Regions from separate parts of the Homo sapiens genome. Here all the other regions are linked to region 1. The links are contacts of gene promoters, found by promoter capture Hi-C in blood cells and fetal thymus (Javierre and others, 2016). All regions are on one chromosome and are shown on one strand. The core of a region is centred on a gene start or on the middle of the fragment in contact, and the rest is flanking DNA. Distances in the headings are between cores, read along the strand shown. Region 1 holds the start of KIF26A (kinesin family member 26A). Region 2 has its middle 150 kb from the start of LINC02691. Region 3 has its middle 120 kb from the start of LINC02691. Region 4 has its middle 72 kb from the start of LINC02691.

Region 1 (6,865 bases), core at 2,630-5,129:
TCCCTTGGTCTAGATTTCCCTGGGGACAGCTCTGACCAGCCGCCGCGTGCCTGGTAAATTAAATGTTAAAAAAAATCCCCACAATGACTTTAATCAATCCACTGACATGGCGGGTGGCCTCCCAGAAGCCCTTGGTCCGCTGAAGGGAGCCCCCCCCTCCCCGCCCCAGGCTCAGGGTCTTGGATGAGACAGGATGGGGGAAGAGGACAGTCTTCCCCAGTCCCCTTCCTGTGGGGGAGGGAGGAGGGTGGGTGGTCCCCAGAGTGTCCTCCTGGAGAGGGACAGAGAGAAAGGGGGGACTCTGGCCCCCTTTATAACTTGCCCTGATCCCAGGCCAGGAGTGATGGTGGACGCAGGGAGGGGGCAGCTCTTCCCCGCCTCTCTCCTGACCAGAAGCCTGGGTGAGTACAGAGCAGGTGGTCACGATCGGCCATGTGGTCAGCAAATCCAGCGTTTATGGTGATTCTGTTGGAGACAAATGGCAGTGCTGGGCTCTGGGTTGGAGTCAGGTTGAGACAACGTCCTTCAGCCTCCACTGGGGGGAGTCAGGGGAAGGACCGGGGGAGCAGGACGGCCTTGCGGCGCCGCCGGAGCAGTGGGGTTGTGGGGCGTGGCCATGGTCCTTCCCAGGGGAGAGTAGAGGAGTGCAGGGGGCAGAGAGCACAGAAAGTCTAGCCCAGCCTTAGCACCCCAGCCAGGCCATAGGTGCGCGCTGGCGCCGCTGAAAACGTTCTCCTTCCCTCGCCTGTCCACCTTCCAGGTCCTGCTCAAGGCGCCTAATATCCCCTGGGCAGGGTCCCTGACACTTCCTTAACTCCCAAAGACCTTCCGCGTGGGCCTAGCGCATTTAGGCGAACCTCTCTGCCTGCTTGATCCTCTCCCTTCCTCCCTCAAGCCAGGCATCTCACCCACTTGCGCGCGAGGCTGGGGCAGCCCACAGGAGGAGCGCGGGACCCGGGCTTGAGTTTGCACCCAGGCAGAGCGCCCACCCCCGCCCCTAGCTTCGGACCCTGAAAGTAAAGTCGTCGTGCCCGGCAGCCAGCCCGAATCTTCCAGCCCTCAGGGAGTCGGGGTCGGGGCAGGGAAGGCCACGGGTGGCGGCACAATCGGGATCCTGGAGTGGAGGCGCAGACTGCGGGTCCCGCTGCGCACGCTCCGTGGTCCGGTTGGGGTGGGCCTTGGAGGTCCATAGGCCAAGGTTGAACGGGGGCTCTGGAGCGTGGGCGGGGTGGAGTGCACAGGTCACTGGGCTCTGAGCGTTTCCATGGGCCAGGACCCCAACGCGCCGTGTCCTCAGGACAGATTGGAGGGGGAAGGGGCTGCGATTATGCCCCAGTCGGAAGGGTTTTACAGCAGCCGCGCTGCCCTCTCCCTGCCGGATACCCGGCAGTAGACACCGACGTCTGGGGGCTAGCGAGGCAGGTGGGCGCGGACCGCGACCCGATTCTGGCTTCCAACCTCCGCCCAGTGGCGCGCGGGGCCGTCGCCCCACACCTCCAGTCCGCGTGGCTGGTGTCTGGCTCGCCGCCGGGGCGGAAGGGGCGCTGTCGGCGCAGGCGGGCGGGGCCGGAGCGCGGGGGCGCGCGGCGCGGAGCGAGCGCAGGGCTCGGGGGCGCGGGGCGCGGAGGACCGGGGGCTTGACGGGCGGCCCTGCGCGGTGCGGGGCGCGGCGGCGGCGGGCGCGCGGCCAGTGAACGCGCGGGCGGGGCGGCGGTGGCGGGAGGCACTAGGGGCCGCTCCCCGCGCTTCCCTCTTCCATGGCGCTGCCCCAGCCGCCCGAGCCGCCCCGCGGCGCGCCCCGCAAGGCTCCCAGCCTGCTGGAGATGGGGGCGCTCTGCCTGGACTCGGAGATCATCCTGGGCTTCACCAGCCACCTCCTGCGGCGACGAGGCAAGGTGAGGGCTGTCGGGAGGGGGGCGGGCGGCGTAGGCGCCGTCCCGTTACTTTGCCGCGCGGCTCGCGCGGCCGGGGGTGCTGCGCCGGGAAGGAGACGGCAGGTCCGGAGCCGCGTCCCGCAGCCCGGGCTGGGACTCGCTGCCGCACTTTCCCCCATTAGCGTTGTCCAAGTCTCCCTCTGCCTTCAAGGCTGTGTCCCAACCGGACCCACCCGGAGGCTGTGGCTAGGGCGGAGAGCGCAGCGCAGGGATTCTCGGGCTCACCTTGCGCCTTGCTAGGATGGGCGAAGTAGGGGGTCGGGGCCCCTGACTGATCGTGAGCCCCCGAGGTGACTCCAGCCTTGTGCACCCCGTGTTCTGCGGATATGGGATGTGAGCTTGTGCTTCCCGAAGCGCCGCGGCGGTAGAAGCGCTGAAGTTGCGGGTGTGGCTGGCCAGGGGCGCAGGACCGGTGCTCCCGACCGCTGCGTGCTTCTGTGTTGCGTGTGTGGGTGGGGGGACGGGATATAGAGAGTGTGTGTCCCGGAGCAGTGGAGCGGCGGGAGGCGGTGCTGTCTGCCGGCAGTGCGGGGTGGGGTTTGGGTGTTGTCCTCAGTACCCAGATCCAGATGTGGGCTGACGCCCGTTTTCATTCTCCAGGCTGCGAAGAGACGGGTAGGGGAAGCGCTTCCGGCCCCCCAGGCTGGGTGGAAAGCGACTGCAGGCTTACGGATCTCAGAAAGAGTGGAGAGCCCCTGCCACTTTATTCCATACCCCCTTGCGTTTTCGAACCCCTAAGGTCATCAACGACCCGGAAAGCCGGGAGGGGATCACCCACCCCACTTTCTGGGGAGTGCGTGCGTGGGCGGGGAGGCTTATCCAAGTAAAAGGGGGTGGGCAAAACGGAAAGGGTCACTTTGACGTACTGAGTCTCTGCGAAGGCCTCACCGTATGTGCCGGCAGCCGCGTGTCCTGGTCTCCGCCGGGTCACGACCTTCGGAGTTTCCGAGTGCGCCTCAGGCCTGGGACGCGCGGCGCTGTCTCCCCAGTCTCGGAGCCGTGTGCGCAGCGGCCGGCAGGGGGCACTCGCGTCACGGGGAGCCCGCCCGCCGCGCCCGCCTGGCTTGACCCGGGCTTTGGGGCTGACCCGGAGCCTGGCCCGGAGCTGCCTGCGGCCGCGGATGCCGGCGACATTTGGGGCCCGGCTAGGCACAGAGCAACTGGTCGCCAGGGAAGGGCGGGGGGGCGGCCTCCCAGCCGGAGACAAACAAGCAATTAATTCCGGAGCTGAGTTCCCATCTGCCAGGCCTGCTGACAACAGGTCCGGCGCACGCCCGCAGGACCTCCCGCTTCCCGGGCGGCACGGCGCGCACACCCACTTGCGGGCACACGCGCGGCTGTAAAGACACGTGCCGTTCGCAGACGCGCCGAGGCACAGATACGCCGGCGCGGTCGCTGCCCGGCTCGAGGCGCACACCGCGGCGACACTAACCCACGCGCGACAGTTAGACCTAAAGTGGCCCGCGACACGCAGAGTACGCTGGGCTTGCTGGAAAGGCGCCTGGGAGTCTCGGGGCCGGGGTCCCGCCCCTTCCTCGGCCCACCTCGCCGTGGGCCTTGGGCAAGAGCGTCCCCTCCGCAGCCTCAGTTTTCCCGCCTGTAGAGGGAGGGGCGTCGGCGCCTCCTGGGAGACGCGCAGCCCTGGTGTCCCGGGAGAGGGGCGGGAGGCGCATGCGCGCGCGCAACTAGATCCTCGCCGCCGCCCCCAGCGCCCCTCCCCGGGGCAGGGACTCACCTAACAGGTTGGGGTCCTTGGAGTGCGCGGGGCCGCGTGGGGAAGCGGGGACCCTACCCCCCCCACGCGCCGCCCAGCACTGGGCAAGGGCGGGGCACTCTCTGGGCTCCCGCCCCTCGCCGCCCGCCCCGGGAGCCCGAGCCCCGCCCTTCCCCGGCCCCGCCCTCGCCTCCCGAGCGCGCCCACCGGAGCCACCGCGCTCCTCGCGACACTCGCAGGCTCTGCGAACTTCCGAGCGGCTGGGCCGGGCCATGGGGGCGCCTCGGGGCCGGATCACGTAGCCGCGGCGCCCCCGGAGAGCCAGCGTGGCCGGGAGCGCCTGCCGGGCTCTTCCCGCGCCCCGGCCATGGTCGGCCGCGGCGTCCCTCTGTGCGCTGCGCAGCCCGCGGTACGCGCGGCCCGGCCTGGAGAGGGAGGCGGGCGGCGGGGGCCCGGGACGGCGAAGATACTCGCGGTGTGCGCTGGATCCCTGGGGGCCGGGCCTCCTGCTGAGGGTAGCGGACCCGCAGGCGGGACCTCCGGGGATGGAGGGAGTGGGTGAGCGCCAGGGTCGTGCCCAGGGCTCCTAACTTTGGCAAGAGCGTCACGCTGGGGCAGGGCGCGCAGGGGTCTGGATCCGACGGACGTCCCAGGCTCACTGTCCGCTTCCGCCCCCACACCCTGCAGGTGGCCGAGGGCGGCCCGGCCCGCGAGCCGCCGCCGCTGCTGGAGGTGTCCCCCCGAAAGAGGCTACCCGCCGGGCCCGACCAGGACCCATGCGGCAGCCGCCCTGCTCCCGAAGGCGCCGGGGCCGGCCCAGAGCAGGGCCACTCGGCCGGCGGAGGCGGCTGGTGCCGCCACTGCCACACGAAGCTGGTGGAGCTCAAGCGACAGGCGTGGAAGCTGGTCAGCGGGCCCGGGACCACCCTCCGGGTAAGTGACACTTCCTTAGGCCGACCCCTCCGAGCAGGGCCACGCCGAACTTGGGTAGAACTTGGGGCTTGGAGGGAAGCAGGGTTCCACTCCTTCCCTGCTGCTGTTTCCACAAAGAGTTATCAGCCAGGACTTCCCTTCTGCGGGCCTCAGTTTCCCGGTCTGTAACACCATGTGTGAGCTAGGGAGCTCAGCCCGAGGGGCCCTGCTGCCTCGGATGGGAGGGGCCTGGGCTGGCGTTCCTCCCCCAGCCCAGATGTCCCACAGCTGGAACGCAGGTTTGTGTGGGAGGAGGAGGGGAGAGAGCGGATGGCAGGGACTCCACCCAGGGCGGGACAGCTCCAGCCCTACCAGCAGGGAGAGGTTATTTGGTGCATTGTGGCCCTTGGGGCACCTGGGCCCCCAGCCAGGTGTCTGGAAATTACATACCTGGGGCCGGGGGGCCTGGCAGGTGAAAGGGTGGGCCACAGCAGCTGGGGGGTCCCTGCCTACTCCTCTCCCAGCCTCAAGGATAAGAACTGTTGTCCCATACCTCCTGGGATAGACTGAGGCAGTGGCCGCCCATGGGGAATTGAGTCGGGGCCCTCTGGGTTCCCCAGGCTCCAGCCCCAGGGGCAGGTGCTTGCAGGGGAGGGGTTCTCCTGGATTTCCAGCCAGTGGGCCTGCCGGCTTTGGAGGGAGCAGGGACCATTGTTCCAGGAACAATGCATGCTGGAAGTTTGCAAAGGCTGGGGGCGGGTGGGGGTCTCCAGAGGAAGCCCGCTGCCGGGCCTTCAGCCTTTATGAAAGAGTTCCTGGGAAGTCCGCATAATCCCCATTGAATCTAAATATAGTTCTCTAAGGGCTGTGGGGGTTGGAGTGAGCTGAGACCCTGACTGCCCTGTCTGGGGCAGGGCAGGGTGGGGCAGGGTACCAGTCTGGTTTCTGTCCTGGGCACCGTCTCCGGGCTCTCTGGAGTCTCGGCGAGGGATAGGATTGCTGTAGCCTCTCTCTGGCTCAGGCCAGGCGCCTGTGGGCCTGTCCTGGGGTGGGGCTGGACCCGCCCTGTCCTCTGCTCTGGACAGGCTGCAGCCTTGGCCATACTCTGTGCCCCAGTGGCCTGTATCTAGTTTAAAAGGTAGCAGGAGACCCTTGAGGGCCCCCTGGAGAGGGCCAGCCAGAGCTAAAGGCCCATCTTGCTGCCCCATTAGGGGAAACACGCCAGAGACAGGAGGGGCATTAAGATTGAGCTGGTCTCCTCATTCTTGGAGTGGGCTTGGACTGCTGATGCTGCCTGGCCCTGGGGCCATGGTCCTGGCATGGACTCGTGGAGGGGAGGGGGCTCCTGGTCACGGGCAGGCCAGGGGTCCTAGTGGAGAGGGCTGCAGGTGATACTAGTCCCTGGTGGATTCTAGGTTCCTCATCTAGGGGGGTGTCTTGGTCTCTTCTGGCAGACAGGTCTTCAGGGGAGCCCCAGACCACCCATCTCCAGCCTCCCCTGAGCTTGGCCTTTGACACTGGAAACTCCTCTTGAGTGCCAGCTGGGGGCTCCCCCTTCCCTAGCTGGCGCTGGCACTCAGCACACCGGGGTCCCGGGCTGGTCTCAGCCAGGGCTTTGTTCTGCTCTGGGCCCCCTTCTTCTGCTTTGTGGTCTCCTCTGTCACCTGGGGCCTGTTGTGAAGTGCTGTCCCACCTGCAGGGTGCTGTGCCCCCGGGAGAGAAGACCCCATCCTCCACTGTCTCTCCACAGGGCATGGGGGGCTGCACCTGCCATCCTGGGGCCTTACGGGTGTCATTGTCCTGTCCCCTGTGCGGGCCTGGGCTGTCCCCAGAGTCCCAGCAAAATTGCAGCCTGCAGCCCTGGCCTGGCCCGCTGGGCCCAGATGTGTGGACATGGCTGCTTCTGTGTTTGGGTTGGGAGGGAAATCTCTGGGGTGGCCAGGGAGACCCCAGTGTGCTCCCCGGAGTCTGGTGCACTGTCCAGTGGGCCCTGGCCTCTGCTCTGTAAGGCCAACGTGGCAAGGGGTATTTAGGGTTGGTGTTCTAGGATTTCCCCAGGGGCCCGTTTCGTATTTTTTAGGGGAGAGATGAGCTTCCTTGAGGATAGCTGTTTACAGGGAACTTCACAATCATCCATCTGTCTCATGCTTGGATCTTCAGAAGCCCAGAGAAGTGGAGAGACTTGCTGGGACCCGGCCTGGCTATTAGAGGCCCTCGCCTCCGGGCTTCCTGCCTGTCTCCGTTGTAGAGGGAGGCGTAGAGGGTCGGGGCCCAGCCTGCCAGGGTCTCCCTGCCTGTCTCCGTT
Region 2 (6,865 bases), core at 2,563-5,062, 230 kb after region 1:
TACAGAAGTTGACTTTATAGTGTTTCTTCCCTAGAGAAAACTCTAGGCCCAAAGAGCCTTCATTCAGAACTTTGATTTAATATTTAAATAAAAAAATGCCATTTTTATACAAACCCTTTCAAAGAAAAGAGGGAGCTCTTCCCAACTTATTTTATCAGGTGAGCATAATCTTAATACAGAAATCCAAATAGGAAAGTATGAGGAAGGAAAATCTCACTCACAAACACAGACACAAGCATCTTACAACCTCAGCAGACTGAATATGGTAATGTGTAAAAAGGATCATGACCAAACATCATGACCAAACTGTCTGCATTTCAGTATTATGATTTTAGTTAAACAGAACATGGATCCAGGCAGCCATGATGAAGGTGGGAGGCAGTGAAACAGCCTCTGCACTACTGAGGGAGGCCAGCTAAGATAGCCTTTGCAGACCAGGAAGAGTTCATGGGAGGTATTCAAGGATTCAGTGATGACACATTGCCCCCTACCCTGTCCGAGGAAAGCAGATAATGACGGACAAGAACAGAGAACTCAAGAAGGGAGAAGATGGCAAGGGGAGCCCCTGAAGAGCAATGGCCTTAAAGATACTCCCCAAAATGCAAAAAAAAAAAGGAAAAATTATTTTTAAAAATGAAACATTGCAGAATGTCTTCCTTTTCTTTATTCATTCCCTTGTTCCCTCGCCCCTGCTCACTCACTCATTCCACAAGTACTCACTGACCCCATCTCTGGGCACAGCTGGCTCAGGGGCCCAGGCCCCCTCCTGAAGGAAGAAGTTCACACAGATCTGCGACTGGGGCTCCCAGACTCCCACTTCCTCCTCTCACTGTCACCCCTCTTGTGGGCCTTACTCCTTTAGGGGCAGGGCTGGGAGAAGAAGGGGCCGGGTGACACTGGTGTGGGAAGGGGAAGCAGCTAGGGGCATCTCTAAGGCTGCTCTGAGCTGGCCCAGGTGCTGCTGGTCAGCATGAAACAAAGCTGGCCTGCCCAGGCCTGCTGCCCTGCAGACAGCCCCCATTTGGGTCACAATGGCCGTGGCCATGGTGGAGGGGCCCTGCCCTTGCCACCTCCACTGCGTGCTGATCATTCCCATGCCCTTTGTGTCCTTGAGCTGCTGTTGTTCCCCAGAGCCCCACCTCCCGAGAGAGCCCCTGAGAGGTCGGGACAAGAATTGGCCAGGGGGTAATGGGTGCCCAGCCCCGAGACAGCAGGGGGTGCTTGGGCTGGTCTTCAGCCCACCTGGGCCCACTTCCACCTCCTTCAATGGTGGGACAGGGAACCCCCAGTCCTGCTGGCCAGAGCGGATCCCTGTGGGGACCTCAGTCAGCCACCCCAGAGTGGATCCCCATGGGGACCTCGGTCAGCTGCCCCCTCTTATGTCTTTCAGCCAACGCTTGCCAGGTCCAGCTCTGCCTCAGGCTGGGCGGGCAGCAGGGTGACAGGTGTAGCAGCTCGTTGCACCACATCCTGGACCCTCGAGCTTGTCCCGGGGGGCTTCTGCACCCCACGCCAGGAAGCTCTTCCCATAGGAAGCCTCAGGGTGAGTGGGCGCCCTCGGAGATAAACACGGAGCCCAAGCACACGAGCTCCGGCCTAAGTGAGGATAAATCTCCATGACAAATGTCTCCTCGAAAGCCCGGAACAAAGGCCGCGGCGTGTTTATCCACCCTAAAGGCCGCGCAGACAGCCCAGACCCCGGAAACAGCCAATCGTGTCGAAATTGATGGCCCACTCAGGATGCCTCATTTATTACCAGAGATGTGATAGAGACGCAGGCAGGCGTGACCGGGAGAGGCTGCAGGCGGCCAGGTGGTCATGGCCTCCTGCCACCCAGAGGGCTTGGGCTCCACCCTCGGCCACTCAGCCTTCCGCCCAAGGACAAATGGGGTCAGGGCAGCAGCTGTACCTGGCGAGAATGCACTCCCTTCCTGGGGGGCCACTTTTTTCCAGGAGTGCATGGCCCTGGGCTGGCTGCTGAGACCTGTGCCCAGCCCCTCCGTGGTGGTACTCTCGTCAGACACCAGCCTCTGCGGCACCCAGGTGAGAGGTGGTGGTGCTGGGGGGCCCCACCCATGCTCTTGTCCTGTGAAGTGGTCCCAGGGTCTCCTGGGCTCTCCAGGCCCATCCGCCGCCTGCCCGCCTGCCAGCAAATCAGCTGTGGGCAAAAAGGGTACTTTTGGTTCCCGTGGTGATGGCCCATGAAGATGGAGCTCTGGCCCTGCAGACCCCCTCCCACCGCCTGGGCACCTGCCTGGAGGGGCCGGGCTTTCACAGCAGGGAGGGACAAGGCGGAGGAGCGGCTCCTGTTTTTTCTTGCGTGAGGCCTGGATCTGATTTGCACAATGATTTCATTGTGTGGAAATGTGCCAGCACCTGGCTCTGACGCCAGACCACCACGAGTGGCAGCTTCTCCAGGACATGCTGACATGTGACGAGGGGGTCCTGCATGTGGAGGGGCAGTGGTGGGCTGTGAGGCTCGAGGTTCAGGCGACCAGCAGCGGGTGTGGGGGCTCCTGTGGTCCCAGAGTGCGTGACCGTCAACCAGAGCAGGGACCCCCACAGAGCCTCCCAGTTAGGGCCCCTGGCAATGGCTGTGGGGGGCTGCATGGAGGGGCAGTGGCCCAGGGTCTGTGGCGGTGTGTGCCGGGCACAGCAGTCTCGCCCCAGCTCCATCTGCTCCCCTCCTCTGGAGGAATGGAAATGGGACCCCTCCTGAGCCCAGGCCTCGCCCAGGGCTGGCACCTGGAGGGTGAGGCCCCCTGCCCTCAAGCCTCCCCAGTGACCTGCTGCCCCCAGGGCGGAGCCTGCCTGAGGGGGAGGCAGCGCTCAGCCCTGAATGAGCTGTCAACTGCTGTGTCACAAATTGCCCCAAACTTAGCATCTGAAAACAACACACATTGATTATTTCCAGTTTCTGGTGGTCAGGGATCTTGACATGGCTTATCTGGGGTCTCTGACTGGGGTCTGAGGGATCGGCAGAGGAGCAGGTTCCCCCTGTAGCCAGGAAGATGCTGCGTGGAGGTGGGGCAGGGTGCAGGTCCACTGAAAGGGAGCATGAATCTGCTCTGCACGGTGGCCCCAGGCAAGTGGGGGCTTGTTGCAGTGGGGACACAGGATGGCTTTTCCCGTGTACCCCAGAAGTCCACACTCCCCTGGTGCAATCTTCTCCAGGGAACGGGTGGATTTATCCGTGGAGATGCATGGAGCCCCGCCGAGCCAGGCCCAGCCCCACCAGGGTCTCAGGAGAGGGCTGGATGTGGGGATTGGGGGAGAGGGGCTTTTCTCTGGGACCTGCAAGTTACTGGTCACTGTCAATCACAAACGGAGCTTTCCTCCATCTCTCCCTCCCCTCACCCCACCCCCAGTCTCCCTCAGCTCCTTCCCCAGATTCTTGGCAGTGCAGCGTCTAAGCAGGGCCTCCAGACAGAGCCCCGCCCTCGAAGGGGCAGGAGGGGCACCCCGCTGTGATCCTAACCCGATCCCCACCACCAAAATCTGCAGGGTGACCCTGGGAAAGCCACTGCCCTTCAAGGAGCCTCAGTTTCCCCATCTCCCATGGGTGATGGGACCAGACTCTTTCCTTCTCTCCTTCAATCGTAAAGCCATCGACATCCTGGCCAGGAGGTGGCCTCCAGTCACCTTTATCGGTTCATTTGCCCATTCATTAAATAGTTGTGGCACCTTTCCTGTAGCGGGTGGCATGGTAGCCCCCAAACATCTGTGTTCATGGACCCAAAGCCTGAGGACCAGGCAATGAGGTCTTAGTTCAAACGAGAGCGTTTGCAGATTTAATAAGGTAAGTAAGGATCTTGGGATGAGATTACCCAGGCCCTAAATCCAAGGACAGGCATCCCCATGAGAGACACACAGGGGGAGGCCACGTGAAGACGGAGGCAGAGATGGAGGGACGTGGACACACACCACGGATGCCCGGGGCCACTGAAGCTGGGAGGGCGGGGAAGGATCCTCCCCCAGAGCGTGCAGAGGGAGGGGTCCGGCACACCTGGATTTCGGACTCCAGCCTCCAGGACTGTGGGGGAGTAAGTGCCTGTTGTTTCAAGCCTCTGAGCTACGGCAGCCACAGCAAACACACACCTTCAATGTGCACCATCTACTGGCAGCCAGGGGACAGCCACTAGAGGGACGGCTCATCTTTAGCAGAGAAATGGACCCGGGAGGGAAGGGACCTTTGGGGCTGAGGGTTCCAGGAGCTGACAGCCTCTCTGCCCTGCTCCCTCCAGGCCCCAGCTGGGCCAGTGTCCTTCAGCTGCTGTGGGACAGCACCTGCCGTCTTCACGCTCTTTCCACAGCGCGGGGTGTGGGGAGGGTGGCCGTGCATTTCAACAACCATCCTCTTGGGATTTTGTCAGGAGTGGCCTGGCGGGCCCAGGCGCTGTCCTGCGTTGGATACCGCACGGGTCCTTCAGCAACACCTGAGCTCGCGGGAGTCTCAAGTAAACTCTGCATGTCGCAATGAGTTTCAGCAAAGCCTCAAGTTAAATGGCTTGTGATAAAAATATTAAGCACATTATGACTGCAAGACGTGATCTCGTCAATGAAGGAGGCTCTTAATTATTTTTGAAGAGAAATATCAACAGTGTCAGATTTAACCGCCAAACTACTTAATATAACTTCCGCCCAATTTTGCAGATCATGATCCGCTCGATTAACGGGCAGGAGGTAATGGATGGAGCCCGCCATGCTGCTCCGGGTGCCGCTGCTGATGCTGGGGACCGAGCCAGGATGGAGGGAGGGGCGTGCACAGGAGAAACCTGGAACTTTCCCTGGGAATAGACCCTGCAGGGGAAAGCCCTGTCCCAGCGCCTTCTGAAGTGGGCTGCAAGCTGCATTCAAAGGGGCTTCTCACCCCAGACTGAGGGTGGGAGCGAGGGCTGCGAGGCTGCACCCTGGAGATGCAGCCAGGCCAGGCACTCACTTACGCTGCCAGGCGGTTCACACTCACAGCGCGTCCTGAACCGCCTTAGAGGGGCCGTAGAGGGCGGCTCTCTCATTCACAGGTGCTGAGTTTGCTGAGCCCCTCCGTGCTTCTTGCTTGCTCCCCGCACTCCAGGGTGGAGGTCCTGCTATCTCCTCTCTGCAGATGAGGAGTTCTCTCATCCGAACCTCACGGCTCAAGGAACAGAAAGCTGGACCAACGGTGGTCAAATACAGTGGGCGCTTAACTACCTCATGGGAGTGAATGGAAAGGAGTTCCCAAGGACCCCGGGTTCTAGCCCCAGGGCCCTGTGGATGGATCTCACGTGGAAAGGGGGCTTTGCCTCTCAAGGATCTGGCGATGCGGAGAGCAGCCTGGGTTATCCTGGTGAGTCTTCAATGTAACCACGAGGCAGAGGAAAATTTGACAGAGAACAGAAGAGAGAAGGGGATGTGTCCCGGAGATGGAGAGTGCAGTGATAGGGCCACAGCCAAGGACCACTGAGTGCCAAGGGGGCTGGGGGAGGCCAGGACTGACTGCCCGGGGCCTCTGGAGGGAGCCTGGCCCACTGCACCTTATTGCATCCCCATGAAAGCTGTTGCAGACTTCTACCTCGAGACCTGTGTGAGAATACAGTTCTGTTGTCTTAAACCACTAAATTTGTGATAGTTTAATTTTTTTTCAGCAGCCACGAGAATCTAATACATTCATGAAAGGAGCCTGGAGGTGGGTGGCACCGGCGTTGAGAAGGAGGTAATGACATCACCCAGGGCCCTGGCTCCTTTCCCTCAGTCATCCTTGAATGTTGGCTACTTGTTCTCTGGCTCCTGACCTCACAGTCACAAGACGGCTGCCACTGCTCCAGGCGTCCCATCCTCACACGACAGCCTCTGAAGCAGAGAGTGAGAAAGGGTGGGTGTGGCTTCTCCTTGTATGGGTCTATCTTTCATCAAGGAGGAAAGCCTTTCTCAGAAGCCCATCAGTGCACTTCCCAGGCTACATCCAAGCAAGGTCCCATAGCTATCCTGGGCCCATCCATGGCAAAGGGAATAGGTTGACCTGATGGGCTTAGACCAGTCACAGGTCATCTACTGGGCTAGGCCCACGCTCCCCAGGCACAAGCAGGTTCTGTTGGCAAGGATAGGAGGGGGATGGGGGCTGGGGTCAGTCGCGGTCATGGAGTTGTGGGGAGTGCCTGGACCGAGAGAGTGAGAGGCAGGATGGCTGCAGTGTGACCTCCTGGGTCCCCCACCACCCAGCTGCCCCCACACACACCCATAAACACCCATATTTGGAGAGGCACTGCCTAGGATGTCCTCAGCCACTACCCTACAGGGCTCCACACCTTTCTGGTACCACATAGGCAGGCACTCTGCCCACACAGGTCCCTGCCCACGGGCCCTCTGCGCACCTGCTCCTCCCTGAGTGTTTCCTTCCATGACTCCCAACAGTCTTGGGGGGAAATCAGGCCCCGTCACTGTGACATTAACACTGTAGGACTTTGAGCCCCATCAGGCCCACGGGAGAGCTTCCTCCTCCTCCTGTTTCCTGGGGCTGCCTGGGCGTTTCAGCTTCACTTTCTCTTCTGCACAGGCATGGAGTGGCATCACGGTTCAAAGCTGGCAGCCCCTGGTCCCCAGACTGCACCGGGCCAGTTCCAGCTTCTGGGGCCTGAGAGGCACGGGCCTCGGGTTCCCTGTGAGAATTGTTCCTGGTGATAGACCTGTGGGCTCTCTGGGGGCTGAGCGAGAGCCGTCCTAACGGGGAGATGGCCCATCCAGGGCCAACACGGCACCTGTGCGTTCTCCCATCCTCCTTCCCAAGGGAGTCCTGGCCAGGCCCCTCTCCTGTGTCCGAGGAGTCTTGCCAGCCCTCATGGTCTGTGTCACGATCTGCAGTAGCTGTCCCATCAGGGCTGATCTGGAA
Region 3 (6,865 bases), core at 1,291-3,790, 200 kb after region 1:
AAAGTGTTGGGATTATAGGTGTGAGTCACTGTCCTCAGCCTTCGTTTTCACTTTTTAAATGGTTTCTTTTGCTGAATTGAATTTCTTAATTTTAATAAAATTGCCTTTTGTTACAGCTTTCCCTTCACGCTTTGCTCTTTTTGTGTCTTGAGAAGCCCTTCCCTCTTCAACAGTCTTTTTAGTTATGCCTTTCATGTTTAAATCTTTGATCATTTGGGATTTATTTCTGAGTATGATGTGAGGTAGGGATTCATTTTCTCTACTTAAAAAATGTATGGAGAGCAAGTTTCCCAGCATCTTATCAAAAAACATCCTTTCTACACTGATCTGCACTGTTTATTCTGTCAGTTATACTTCAAGTTTCCATTAGTATATATTTTTCTGTGTTCTCAGTAATCTTCTGTTGGTCTTTTTGTCCATATCTGCACCCATACCATACAGTTTAATGACTTCAGCTCTGTGCTAAGTCCTGCTGTGTTGCATAGGTCCCAGCTTGCTTTCTTCTTCAAGAGCATCTTGGCTAATCTTAGTCCTTTGCTCTTACATGAAAAAACCTCTTGTGATTTTTGTTTAAGTGTGTTAAATCTTTAGGTCAATTTGGGGAAAACTGACATGGTGATGAAGTACATAGTATGTTTCTTTATAAAATATATGATACATCTCTCCTTTTACTTACACCTTCTTTAATGTCTTTGAATAAAGCTTTCATTATTTTTCCCATAACGTGTTTGCACATCTGTTGTTGGTTTTATTCTTAGGTATTCAATATTTTTAATTGCTAGGGTAAATGACATTTTAAAATTTATATTTTAAGACCATGGTTGGTATAGAAATCGGTTTGTATAGATTGTGATTGTATTGAAATGCAGTTGGATTGGGGTATTGATTTTGTGCCCAGCAAACTTGCTAACTATCTTCATTCTAATTAGTATTAGTTTTTTTCCCTTCTACTTAAACAATCATATTATCTGCAGACCATGATCACATTTTCTCTTTTCTTTCCTCATGCATTTATTTCTTTGCTTTACTGAAACTGGACTGGCCCTTTGGTTAACTTTTGACTTTGTAAAAAAGCCTATTAAAATTATGAGTAACAACTGCCTTAGTGCATGCAGGCTACTATATCAAAATACCTCAGACCAGGCAATTTATAAACAGCAGATATTTATTGCTTACAGTTCTAGGGCCTGGGAAGTCCAAGATGGAGGTGTCAGCAAATTCAGTGACTGGTGCGCCGGTTTCTCACAGATGATGACTTCTCCCTGTGTTCTCATAACGCAGAAGCCGGAAACAAGCTCCCTCCAGCCCCTTCTGCAAGGGCACTAATCACCTCCCAAAGGCCTCATCACCTCTTGATACTATTGCATGGGGGTTAGGCTTCAACATATGAATATTGGGGGGATGCAAGGATTCAGACCACAGCAACTACTGAGACAATGTGAATAGTACACACAACCTCCAACCCGGTACAGAAGGAAAAATCAGGAATAAAAAATGTCTAATTCACATGAAGGTCAGAAAGGAAGAGGAAAATAAAGGTCAGAGGCAAAGTATGGAATTCCAAACGTGGAATGCCGAAATGGAGAACTCAGGTCCGGAGCCGGTGAATTGCCCTCCGCGCTTATGGAGATCGCCTGCAGCGCCACCTGCAGGCTGGAGGAGCACTCCGGGCCCCAGTTCACCGCCCTGGACCCAGCTGGCACCACCTGCGGTTCCCAAGGACGCATCCAGTAAGGGGCGGGGCGGGGCGGGGCGGGGAGGGGCGGGACTCACCACCCATGTGACCTGCACTGGCCTGGAGGAGCTGCCTGACTGCAGCGGACTCTGCCAAGAATTTCAAGAGGTGCAGTGGTCCAGTCATAAAGCAACATGAAAACGCTGTAAAAAGAGTTTAATCGCGCACACGAGGCAGACATTGCATTTAATTTATCACCCTGCAAAATTAAAGCCATTCTGGGGTTTGCTATCGCTCATGCAGGGTGGAGTTATTTATTGGACACTGTCAGAGCCGAGGGGATCTGAAATTCAGGTCAGGGAAAGTCAAGTTTACAAAGGCCCGTCCGGGTCCCTAGGGGCCCAGATGGCTCAGGGCAATGTTCCTGTGTCTTGCTGCTGCAGAGGCTGAGGGGAGCAGGCACTGTGTTCACATCCTTGATGAGAAAGCCGAGCTCCGTGTGGGTGCGTGCAATCCTGCCTCCCCGAGCTCCACGCTCTGACCCTCTAACTCCTCAGACCACTAAGTAGGCTGTCCCCTCACCTGCCCCTTTGACGATGTGCTGGGTGCCAGGTGCCTGAAATGCGTGCTCCTACCTGCCCAGCCCTGTAAGGAAGCCCTGCATGGTGACCCCCATGTCACAGATCTGAGCCCTGGCTGAGTTGATCACCGGGCCTGGCGCTGTCCACCCAGTCTGTGCTGAATCTATTTGAAGAAACCCATGGGGTCCTGGGCTTGGACCTTTTGCTTGGCCCAGGGAGGAGGGGCAGGGCAGGCGTGAGGCCTCCTAGAGGAAGGATGGCGGCCGGTTTGAAATACACCTGGGAAATGGCTCCGGGGGACACCACAGATTTGCCTTCAAAGCACTTGTTCAAGCAGTTACTCACTGGGACTGATTGCAGAGGAGGTGGGCAGGGGGCGCTGGCCGGGCCTCTGGGCTCTAATTAGTCAGGTAATAAGGCTGTTTGTGCCAATTTGCTGGGCCGACAGGCTGGCTGCTCACTGGCTGCCTAACGAGGTGGGGAGTTGGGGTGAGTGGCCCAGGCAAGGCCCATTGACTCACCAATGGGCTGCGGCTGCCCCTCCTGCTCCTGTCTGCAGGGCCCAGGAGAGGTGAGTGGAAGCTGGGGAGGCCGGAGGTCCCTGGCGTGGGAAGGCCACAGCAGTCATTGGCACCCAGACCAGCAAGACCAACCCTCCAGCTGGAGGCCCTCTGTCCCTCCGAGGACTCACTGCCCGAATTGCCAGACAACCTGCCAGGAGTCCCGGCACCCACACCTCCTGTCCTTGTGGGTCTGGGTTGTTTGCACTGAGTGCAGAGCTCTGCGGCTGATGTAGGGAGAGAACAGAGGGCTTAACCCCTTCCTGAATCCTCTCATTCTGGCCCCCACCACTGCTGAGTTTAACACCATCCTGACACCCACTTTCCAGAGAAATCAGCAGAGCCTGGAAGAGCCTCAGGGAGTTGAAGGAGAGACGAGGAGAAGGGGCTGCCACTGTGGGTTTTCTGTGTGACCTCGGGTGATGGCCTGCCCTCTCTGAGCCTGGGTTCCCTGTCTGTGGTATGAGCTGGTGCTGCAGGTCAGCCTTTGTGCCTCTCAGAGACAGTGTGTTGGGTGGCTGAGGGGGGCGCTGGGGGTGTGAGGGGAAGGAAGAAGCCCAGCAAATGCATGCGGTCTGCTTCCCCGTGAGATGTTCTGCTTTCTCCCATCTCTGCCACACCCCTTCTCCTGGGGACCCCCAGCCCAGCGCCCTGGACCCAGGGCCATGCTGACAAGGGATCCTGTGAGCAGCCTAGGAGCAGGCGCACATTCCACACATACTTCTGGAGCATGTGCTCAGTGCCAGATGCCACAACAGGGGCTGGAGACACTTGGGGAGCTCCAGGCTCACATCCCTGGGGAGGCAGGCGCCAGCCCCATAGTCCTCTGAGTAACTGTCCTGCAGGGTGGTGCTCAGCCGTGCCTGCCCACACCTCCATCGACTCCAGGTGGCACATCAGGGCAGGGTCACCCTCACCCTCCAGTTCCCAGAGGCCTCCTCTGTCAGGCTGCACCCTCTGTGAGTCCCTGGAGGACCCTGGGCTGAAGTCAGGCCTTTTTCCTCTCCCCTGCACAGATCTGGCACCTTCCAGCTCCTGCCCACAGATCTGTATTGCACCTGCCAAGCTCCAGTCTCCCACCCCCAACCTCTGCAGACTCTTCCAGCCTCCTCCAACTCCAGGTTCCTGCAGGATCCCTCCCTGTCCTACTAGACTGGAGTGACTCTGAAGTCACTTCTACAAGCCTGCGTTGGGCTCCCATGCAGATGTCCCATGTGCACAGAGCCCCGATTCTGGCTGCAGAGGCAGCTGGCACCAGATGTGCAGACACAAGGTGCCTGGGCAGGTGCCCAGACAGAAGCCTCAGTCTGGGGCCATGAGGTGAGCACACTCCCGAGGGAGGCATCAGCCCAGGACCTCAAACAACGATGGTGAGAACACCAGCCCGCACTCTTCCTCATTAGTTGGAGTCAACTTGGATGCCACCTTCGTGGGAAGGTCTCTCTTCCCCACCATACCTCTGTGCCTCCATCTCTCTCGGCCTTTCACCCTACCAAGGAAAATCTTCCTTGTCCTTCCTTTGTATCACTGATCATCACCCAGCATGATCTATTCATTTGTGAGTAAGCTTTCTGCTCTTTCCCCTGCGATGCAAGCTCCATGCAAACAGAAAGATTTGTCTGCATTTCTTTTCCTGCCAAATCTTTAGCATAAAGAATAGTGTCTGGCATGTAGGAGGTGCTCAATAAATATTTGTTGAGTAAACAAACGAATGAATTGGTTGTACATCCCCTTCGAGGCAATGTCCACACAGCACATTTATCATCGCTGCACTTGCAGGACAAATGGCTTCTGTGTCCTGCTGGCTTCCCTCCTTTTGGATACCAGTTGCCCACGTTTCCATTAGATCTTCTGATTTTTCACTAGCGCTGCCCAAGTGCTATCGACTGCCTGATGGGTGCCTTCCCAGACTCTTCTGCACATTGCACACTCAGGCTGTCAACACATCACTCCTCCAGACACCATGGAGAGGGGCGCCTTAGTGGCAAAATTTTTCCAATCGGGGGAGCAATTTTCTCAGGATAAGTTCCCATGAATTGCAATTACCTGATAGAGGAGCCCTTGCTATTGCTCTCGCCATGTGTTGCAAATTGCATCCTAGAAGCTATGTGCTGCTCACGTGCCACCAGCTCACAGTGCCACCAGCAGTGCAAGCACCTGCTGGGGGAAGTCCAAGCTGCACCTGCCTGAAGCCAGCATGAGGCTGAATCCCAGCCCTGAGCCTCCAGGGAGAGGCATGACCCAGACATGAAGGCAACAGAAAGATATCTGTGACCTGCCCACATGGAGGGATGGTGCCATCCAGGGTCCTTTCCAAAGAGGGCACCCAAGGGCAAGGTCCAGTGTGCATGGAGCTTAGGGCCAGGGAGGGTGAGGAGTGCCGGTGGAACCCCCTGGAATGAGCACCAGTGCAGAGAAGCATTGCCTCCCTGCTAGAGGAGGCCCCAATGGATCATCGTGACCAAGGGGGCAAGCTCTAGATGAAAGAGTAGGACAAAAAGAGAAAGGAGGGAGGGCCTTGGAGAGAAGAGAAGGAAGGTGAGCAGGCCAGCGGTCACTGAGCTGGGTGTCCATCTGTGGCTTCATGAGCCTGGTGCCCCTCTCCTCTCTTGAGGTGCAATGGCAGACCCTGTAGGGTCCCCTACCCCCACTGCATGTGCCCCTGCTGGGGCTGCCCATCCAGGGTCCAGGGCTGCCTCCTTCCCTCCAGGCCCTCTTGACAACCCCGCTCCCCTACCCTAATTTGTGGGAGGATTGGATCCTAAGCCAGTTTAGCCAACTCTGAGACTCACTCTGTGCCAGACGGAGGCAAAGTGTGGGGCTCACAGGCTCCAAACTGAAAAAGCAAGTTCACAAAACGGGGGGCACCCGGCACCGTGGGAGGCGTGCAAGACATTGGATCCGACTTCACTGGAGGGCATTGCGAGAATGTTGGAGATGGGGAATGAGAGAGACCGGCAGTGAAGGCGGCACACCCGCCCCACCCTCAAGGCACCGTGCACCGCCCTGTCCTCGGATCTCCCCTCCAGGGCAGGAACGCACCCACCTGACCGAGTTGCTGAGGACAGGCTCCAGTGTGAGTCATCTGGGCCACGCTTGGCTCCTTTTTGGTGGGGAGTGGAGGAGGCAAACTCTAAATTTTATTTTTGAAGTGAAAAAAGCTGCCATTTAAAAAAGTTGTCAGTCAAGTTCCACTGCTGTGTGTCCATCAAAGCTCGAATTGGACTGATCCTGCCATAGATAATGGTGATAACCTCTGGACAAATAACAAAAATAAATCAATCAACAGAACTTCCAGTTTCAGCTGCAACATGTAAACAGCTTGGAAGTCACTCCTCTCCTTACAATAAGAAAAAGGCGGAAAAAGTGAAAATCAGTGACTTTTCTCAAACCCATCAGAGAATGGGGTTGCAAAGCAAACTGCCACCCTCAAATCCCGGGAGACACATGAATATGGAAGAGCAAGTCTGAGATCTGCTCACCTGGAGCCGAAGCCGCTGGAGCCAGAAACCCGCAACTTGACTGGCAGCCTTGATGAACTGCTGGGGGCTGACCGTGGAGTAGCTTGACAGGGAGCAATTTCCTGGGGCCACACTCTTTTTTTTTAGATGGAGTCTCGCTCTTGTCGCCCAGTTTGGAGTACAGTGGCACGACCTTGCTCACTGCAACCTCTGACTCCTGGGTTCGGGGCCACACTCCTTATGGGGGGCCCATTTTCGTGGGCTTCACTCCCAGAAACCAACAAGTCTTTCATGGTGAAGATCTGAAAATGACCCCTGTGTCTCTGGCAGTGGGTGGCGAAGGCAATCGTGTGAAATATACCCAGTGCCTTCTTCATAACCAAGGCCTGTTCTCCAGGAAACCTTATTGCAGGTGGGGGAGGGATTTCCTCCCACTCCTGCCCCCGCCAGTGTGTCTGTCTCACCTTAGGATAAAAACAAAAAACATAGTAAACGAGGGCCAGAGAGCTTCAAAAGAATAGATTGGGAATATTGCAACCAGGAAAGGACTTGCAGGGATAGGAAGCTATACCCATGCAGAAACACGTG
Region 4 (6,865 bases), core at 1,700-4,199, 160 kb after region 1:
GAAAGGCACACGGTGTGGGTGGGGGAGGGAGGGGGCTGCAGTGGCAGCGGGAGAGGTGGGGCAGCTGAGAGAGGAAGGTGGAGGGGCGGGCACTTTTGGAGGCAGAGGTCACCAAGGGCCTTCAGCTCCTGCCTGGGGCCAGGCCCTGCAGGGCCTCCCAGCGCAGCCCTCACCAAGAGTCACTGGAAATCAAGACAGGCCCCCCCCCCACCTTACTTCTGCCAATTTAGAGTTAGATCTGTACTTGTTTCTGGAAGCTTCTTATGTGAGGGACTGGCTGGAAGGTACATGTCTGGATCTCACCCTCGCCCAGTGACCGTTCCACCTTGGCCAGAAGGTGCTGATGTCATGGGCCGAGGGCCTGAGCGAGGGCCTGGGAGTGCCCACCCCACCCTCTGCAGCCTCCTCTTTCCCACAGCCTCTCTGTCCTCCAGTATCCAGAGGCCCTGAGCTGGTCACCCCATTGTCACTTTGTGTTACTAAAGCCCCGGGCCAGCCATGCCACCAGCGTTTTGGCTCCCGCGTGTTGGGGCGGGGCCCGGCAGAGCTCTCGGGGCGGCTGTTTGGAGTGGGCGCAGGGCACACAGGCACGATGTCTCTGGTCATCTGTTCCAGGTGTCCACAACGTTGATCAGCTTTGAGAGATCACGTTTCTGCGTTTCTCAGACCTGCCTTGGAAGGGGTCTTGCTGGGGCCGGGAGAGGGGCTCTGCTGGGGAGGGGGGCTCTGCTGGGGAGGGGGGCAGGGGTGTGGGAACGGGGGTGTCGACAGCTGGGCACGGAGCAGAGTCCCTCAGACGTGCTCCCCGCTTCTCCCCGTGACTCGCCACCTCTTTCTGAAAGTGGGTTTTGTTCTCCCCAGCATCTGTGGTTTCTGATGGATTCGAAAATATTTAATAAATATTTGGCTTCCATTTTCAAAATGTTCTGTGCTCTTTTTAGGTTTCCTTATGGAAAGAGACTGAGATATTCTTATTTCAACTCCCAGGAGCCCATGGGTGCCTTTTACTTCCTCCCACTCTTACCCCAGACTGCCTGGTTTGTCCTGGTTTGGAGGTGAAGGCTCTGGCCCGGAGCTGCAGAATCGGTTCCCCAGGGCTTGCAGGAGTAGGCCAGGGGCCTGGAGGGCCAGGGGGCTGCAGGGGCCAGGGGACTGCAGGGACCGGGGGCTGGAGGGACCCGGGGGCTGGAGGGGCCGGGGGGCTGCAGGGGCCATCTGCTGCCGGCCTTTTCCCTTGAAAACAAGCCAGTGCTTCATTTCCCTTCTTTTAGCAGCAGGTGAGCTGGCCGGGGGCCTCAGAGCGCTGGCCCAGGTGTGAGGGTCACGCTTCTGCGGGGACGCCAGCCAAGGCTCACCCATCCCCAGAGATGTCCTGTGAGGCCCCAGCGTGACTCAGAGCCCAAACGAGATTGTCTTGGGAGGTGCAGAGTTGGGAGATGCAGGCTGAGATGAACCCCGGGGGAGGGGCAAGGCCAGGCAGAGGTGAGTGCAGAGAGCAACGGAGGGAGGGGGCTGCCAGGAAGGGGCCCTGGGCAGGATGGAGGCTGTCCACAGCAGCAGCCTGGTTGGTAGCTGGGCCCTACCCTCAGGCCTCCTCCTCCAAGGCAGGACGGAGCAGTGGTTAGGATCACCCCATCCTCCCAAAGCAAAGGCATCCTCTGTTCTGGGAGCTGAGAGCACCAGGGAGCTTCCTCCTGCTGCCTGGCCCGGGTGAGTGTCTGGGAGGGGCTGGGGCAGCCTGGTTGGTCACCAGAGTGTGGTCATTGTCATCTGCATCCCGGGGTGAGAAAGGACAAGAGGGCTGCCCTCTGCCTCCCTCCCGTGCTCCCTGTCCTGAGGCTGGCGGCTGTGAGAGAGAAGATTGTCGCTCAGCAAACACTATTTCCTCATCCACTGTCCCCATTGATGGCAGGCTTGGCCACCGGGCTCGATTTAGCCGGAAGTGGCCATGTGCCAGCTCCCAGCTGAGGGCTCTGGTGACCCTCCTGTGAAGAGCCTGCCTTGGAGGCTGCAGTCCCAAGGAGGAGGCTAGACTCAGCCCTCGTCCTCCAATGCAGCTGCAATGAGCCTGCTCCTCCTGCTGGTGGAAAATGCAGGTAGGCACGTAAGCCACCAACCCTGGGGGCTCAGTCAAAATCCTGAGGACCCCCAAGGGGCAGAGCCGATGGGGCCTTCTGACCAGGGTGCCCAGAATGGATGGCACTGGGGGACACAGGCTAATTGCGGGGGAACAGGTGAAGGTGGGTGAAGCAGCTGCGTGTTTGGGGCAGAGGGAGAGGTATTGTGAGGGTTAATTTTATGTGTCCACGCGACTGCAGACATTTGGTGGACTCCGATTTGGGGTGTGTCCGTGCAGGTGTTTCTGGATGAGATTCAGGCTGGAATCCGTAGACTGAGCACAGCAGATGTCCCTCCCCCATGCGGGTGGGCCTCGCTCAATCAGATGAAGGCATGACGAGGAAACTGGTTGCCTTGCAGCCGGGAGGGCGGCTGCTTTCCTGCTTTCAGATTTGAGCTGGAACATCAGCTCCACCCAGGTGTCGAGTCTGCTGGTGTCCGGCCTGATTTGCCACCATCAGCTCTCCCAGGGCTCCAGCTTACTGACTCGGTGCAGGTCTGCGGACTCAGCCTCCATCATTGTATGAGCTAATTCACTGCAATAAATCTCTCTTTCCACGGCCTGTTGATTCTGAGTCTCTGGAGAGGAGAGTACAGCAGCAGTGGGTGACAGACACCAGGGACCTCATTGGCACTAAGGATTGTCCCCGACCGGAATGCGGAGTCCGGGCTGAAGGAGGTGACTCCCCACCTCCCTGCCCTGCCCTGTGGTGGGGATGGGTGGGGGGAAAATGCCCAGTTCCTGAGCTGGACTCTGAGTGACAGTGGCCCTGGTTAGTGGGGGCCCTCTGCTGGGCGGTGGCCGGAGGGAGACAGGGTGCCAGGCCGGGAGAAATGTTTAGAGGGCATCAGTGCCAACTTCCTGGGCACGGTGCAGGTGTGGAGAGAGCTGCCCCCAGCCTGAGAGGATGCTGGGTTGGGCTTATCTCCACTCGGAATCGAGAGAACTCACCGTCCCCAGAGCCGGACTGGCTGCCATGGGAGGCCACCCCACGAGAAGAGAGGAGGAGCCGAGGCCTGTTGCTGAGGGTTGCGGAAGGCAAGGAGGAGGACACAGAGGGGCCCTTCCCAGGCCTCTGTTATCACGGCTCATTTCTGGAGTCCCAGAGCCGGGCAGAGCCAGGCTCAGCACAGCAAGGATGACGGCCCAAGTGGAAGCACTGGCAGGGAGAGCTGGGACAGACGCAGCCCCAGACAGGCTGGACCCCAGGGACGGTAAAGGGTGCACACCGCTTGCCCCACTCGTACTCTGCGCCCAGCAGCTCCCTGGATGGTGGCCGGGCAGGAGGCTGTCCTGACTGATCCCGCAAATGTATTTACAGCTATTGACGGCCTGAACGTGGCCTATTGATCCACGCCTGAGCCTGGCCGGGCGGCGCGTGCACTTGGCCAGGGCAGCCCTGCGTGACGAATGGGCAGCTCACAGCCCACCCTCTCCGACAGGTGATTGTTTCAGTGAAAATGAGAAATGATGATCAGGGCTTAAGGCTGATGATTGAGGAAGATTTCCAGCGACTTTGCAGGTCGTCTCGGTGGTGCTAATAGCCAGGGCCTCCTACAGAGAGGCATGTTCCCCGACTAGGCAGGTCACCATGAATGTCTGCAAAGACGCTGTCCTGGCGTGGGGACCCGGGCAGGGGCACAGGAGGCACAGACGTTCCTGCCCCTTTCCCTGGCTGGGTTGCGCTGCTGAGGTGGGCCAGGTGGGGTTCACTCTTTCTGGCTTCTAAGGGGGTTCCAGACCCCAGATGGGCCTGGGGAAATGAGGGCTTTGTGTGGACAGCCCCATGGGAGAGGGGCTGTTCCCAGCCCTGGTGCCCGCCTGCCTAGTCCTCCCTGGGACTCTGGGCCCAGCCTTATCATTCCTCTCTTCTCTTCTAAGATGAAAAGAGGATTCCTGCAAGTGGAGACGAATCCTCGGGCCCCTGAGCTGCAGGTGGTGAACAAGGAGCTGAGGGCCTGCTGGTTCCCCAGGAGGGCAGGCAGGGCTGTGCTAACGAGGAGAAAGAACCGAGTGAAGGAAGGCACGGAGGTGCCAGGGAGAGACCAGGAACCTCCTCAGCTTCCTGGCTTCCTTCCTGGCCCAGGCCCCCTATTCCCGGGGCCCTAGGCTGGGCTGAGGTCCCCTCGCCCTGTGCAGGGCCTGGGGCTCAAGTTCTACCAGCTGTAGCCTGGGGCCTGAAGGTCCATCTGATATTTGAAGGACTCAGAAGGCCCTGGGAGGGTGTTGGCAGGAGTAGCCTCAGTGTTGATTCCTCGATGGCCCCTGAGCCAGGTTCAGGAGCACAGAGAGACGTGGGTGCCACCTCTCCCGAGCTTGGAGCTCACTCTTGGGGGTTGAGATGGGGCCAGGAAGGGGTTAAAGCAGGAAGCATCTTGCAGGGCTGTTAGGAAAATGATATTCTGCTGTTTGACGTCATTTTAATTCCATTTCAAGGGCATTTAATCTTATTTGCCCGATGACTAATCCCCGGCCTTGAGTGAATTAATGTGCGGCCCCTTCTCTGAGGGGAAGCGGGACCCTTTCAGTGGAGACATCGCGTCACCGCGTCCCGCCTCTTGCTTGGCTTGGCGGGCAGGGCTCCTGGCCAGAGGCGGGGGCAGCCACTGGGTGGGGGCTGTGGTGAGGACCTGACCCCTGGGTGAGGAAGAACGACTCGGCATCTCCTTAGCCCTGGAACTTTCCAGAAGCGTGCCTGCCTGCAGTTTCTCCTTTGTGCCTATGGGCAGAAAATGCCCATTTCCCAGGCCCAGGACAAAAGCTCCAGAACTGGATGCTTCGAGGCAGGTGCAGGGACCCAGGTGGCAGGGCGGGGAGCAGCGAGAGCCAGCTGCTGCATGTCCAGGGCTGGTCCACCCAGGCCACCCAGCAGGGGCCTCAGCCAGGGCCGCAGGGGCCGTGACAGGTGCTGGCATGCAGGAAGGAGTCACCAGACTTGTCCACCCAGTTGGAGAGGGCCAAAGAGAAACTGGAAACTGAGGCACAGCCGGGCAGGGGCTTGCTAGATGCATTTTTCAGAAGGGCTTGATCTTGTCCCTGGACTTTCTCTGTGATCCCACCTTGACTTTCAGCCTCACGGGGCTGGGACCCCCTCCCCTACCCCCACCCCTGCTTTGCCTTCAGTGGCCACAGGAGAAGAGGACCCATCTGCCGGGTGGGCAAGCTGAACTGTCACAGCCCCCACGCAGTCCCACGTCCCCTCTTGCTCAGGCCACAGACATGCACAGGAGATGCCAGGTCCTGTCTGCCTTGAAGAGTCCAAGGAAAAACTTTCTCGTTGTAATTTCGGGCCTTGGGGAGCCTCTAGGAGGAGGAGAGGGGGCCAGGGAGGCTCTGGTGGATGTGAGTGGAGTCTCGCCATGTGGACAGCCCTATGATGGGTGAATATTCCAGTCCTCACAGTGGGTGAGGCTGAGTGGTGGCTCCTGGGGACCAGAGATGGTCCTGGCTTAGCTCTTCGGCAGCAGCCTCTGACCTGCCTGTGCTCAGTGGGCTCCCTCCTGCCACCCCACAGGGCTGGGTGAAGCTTCTGCTTGGAACATCCTGCCCCCGGCCTGACCCTTGTGGGGTGATGGGTCCTTCCCTGAATCCAGGCTCCCCAGACTTTAGGGGCCCGGAGGCCTGGGATGGGGGAGCAGGCAGGGCCGCAGCCCCAGGAGGCGAGATGCCCTGGCTACCTTCCTCCACCTGCCCCTGCATCTGCTTTCACCTCTGCTGGTGCCTCTGAGCTTTGAGGAACTTCTGCTGAGTGCTTTAACCACCCACGGCCTGGACCTGGTTGAGCTTTTGGGTCTTCTGGGAGCGAGCATGTCCTGTGAGTACCCCAGGGTGTGATTTGCACGCAAGAGGTCTGTGTGGACCACGGGGGGCTGCAGGGGCTGCAACCTGGGCAGCCTGGGCTTGTGGGAACTGCAGCAGCTCCCGGGCCTTCCCAGGTGGTCTGGCAGGGACTGGAGGCATAGGAGGGGCTCAAGATGCTCGTTCCACCAGAATGAGCCTCCTAACACCTGGACAACCAGGTGGCACAGAGGTCAACCTGGTGACTGAAGGACAGTGTGGCCTGCAAGTTGGAGATGTTGGAACATCTGGGTTAATCAGAATGGCCCTACAAGCACAGCCATTGTAGCTGGCATTGGGGTTGACCCCAGCATCCACTGTGCCCCAGTGTTGCCCTGAGTCTGTCACCATGGCACCTACTTCCTTGCCATGGGCTTGGGGTGGCAAGGTGTGAACCAGCCAGGCAGGCTTGCCCACCCTCTGTGGGCTGCATGGGAGCAAGGAAGGTCATACTTCATGGTGGTTGGCAGCCACCGTCTGCTCAGAGCGGCCCCTACCTGACACAGAAGGCAGTACTGAGAGCGGTACTTCATCTGTCCATCCACCAATCCATCCATCCAATCTTACACCCACCTACCCATGCTTCCATCTACCCACCCATCTGTATACCCATTTATCTATCCATTTACCCATCTGCCCACCTACCCATCCATCCATCCATCCATCCATCCATCCATCCATCCATCCATCCAACCATCCATCTACCTTTCCATCCATCCATGCATCCATCCATCCATCCACCCACCCACCCATCCATCCATCCATCCATCCATCCATCCAACCATCCATCTACCTTTCCATCCATCCATCCATCCATCCATCCATCCATCCATCCATCCATCCATCCATCCATTCCATCCACCCATCCATCTACCTAAATATCCATCCATCCATCCATCCATCCATCCA

What was found. Contacts are between HindIII fragments. The CHiCAGO score rates a contact against its expected background, and 5 or more counts as called.
Region 2: a fragment that was not itself captured here is called in contact with the fragment with the promoter of KIF26A in region 1 in 1 of 17 cell types (endothelial precursors); the score reaches 6.3 in endothelial precursors.
Region 3: a contact is called between a fragment that was not itself captured here and the fragment with the promoter of KIF26A in region 1, in 1 of 17 cell types (endothelial precursors). The highest score is 6.0, in endothelial precursors.
Region 4: a fragment that was not itself captured here is called in contact with the fragment with the promoter of KIF26A in region 1 in 1 of 17 cell types (endothelial precursors); the score reaches 6.5 in endothelial precursors.

Annotation. Positions count from the first base shown.
Region 1 is chr14:104,134,708-104,141,572 of GRCh38, forward strand. It overlaps KIF26A (kinesin family member 26A), which reads left to right and starts at 3,880. Exons shown (of 15, transcript NM_015656.2): 1 at 3,880-4,057; 2 at 4,336-4,581. The coding sequence starts at 4,016. KIF26A-DT (KIF26A divergent transcript) reads right to left here and starts at 3,922. Exons shown (of 3, transcript NR_158217.1): 1 at 2,823-3,922; 2 at 2,160-2,535; 3 at 76-465. RefSeq lists enhancers at 1-290, 899-1,472, 1,759-2,470, 2,471-3,182 and a silencer at 2,879-3,048. The HindIII fragment of the contact is 14,398 bases long and covers 1-6,865 here.
Region 2 is chr14:104,366,315-104,373,179 of GRCh38, forward strand. No RefSeq gene overlaps it. Among named protein-coding and RNA genes, the nearest start is that of LINC02691, 150 kb to the left of the region's middle. RefSeq lists an enhancer at 3,792-4,293. The HindIII fragment of the contact is 9,349 bases long and covers 1-6,865 here.
Region 3 is chr14:104,340,497-104,347,361 of GRCh38, forward strand. No RefSeq gene overlaps it. Among named protein-coding and RNA genes, the nearest start is that of LINC02691, 120 kb to the left of the region's middle. RefSeq lists an enhancer at 1,690-2,303. The HindIII fragment of the contact is 3,681 bases long and covers 701-4,381 here.
Region 4 is chr14:104,292,243-104,299,107 of GRCh38, forward strand. No RefSeq gene overlaps it. Among named protein-coding and RNA genes, the nearest start is that of LINC02691, 72 kb to the left of the region's middle. RefSeq lists enhancers at 926-1,594, 1,595-2,262, 2,577-3,268, 4,652-5,341. The HindIII fragment of the contact is 5,388 bases long and covers 256-5,643 here.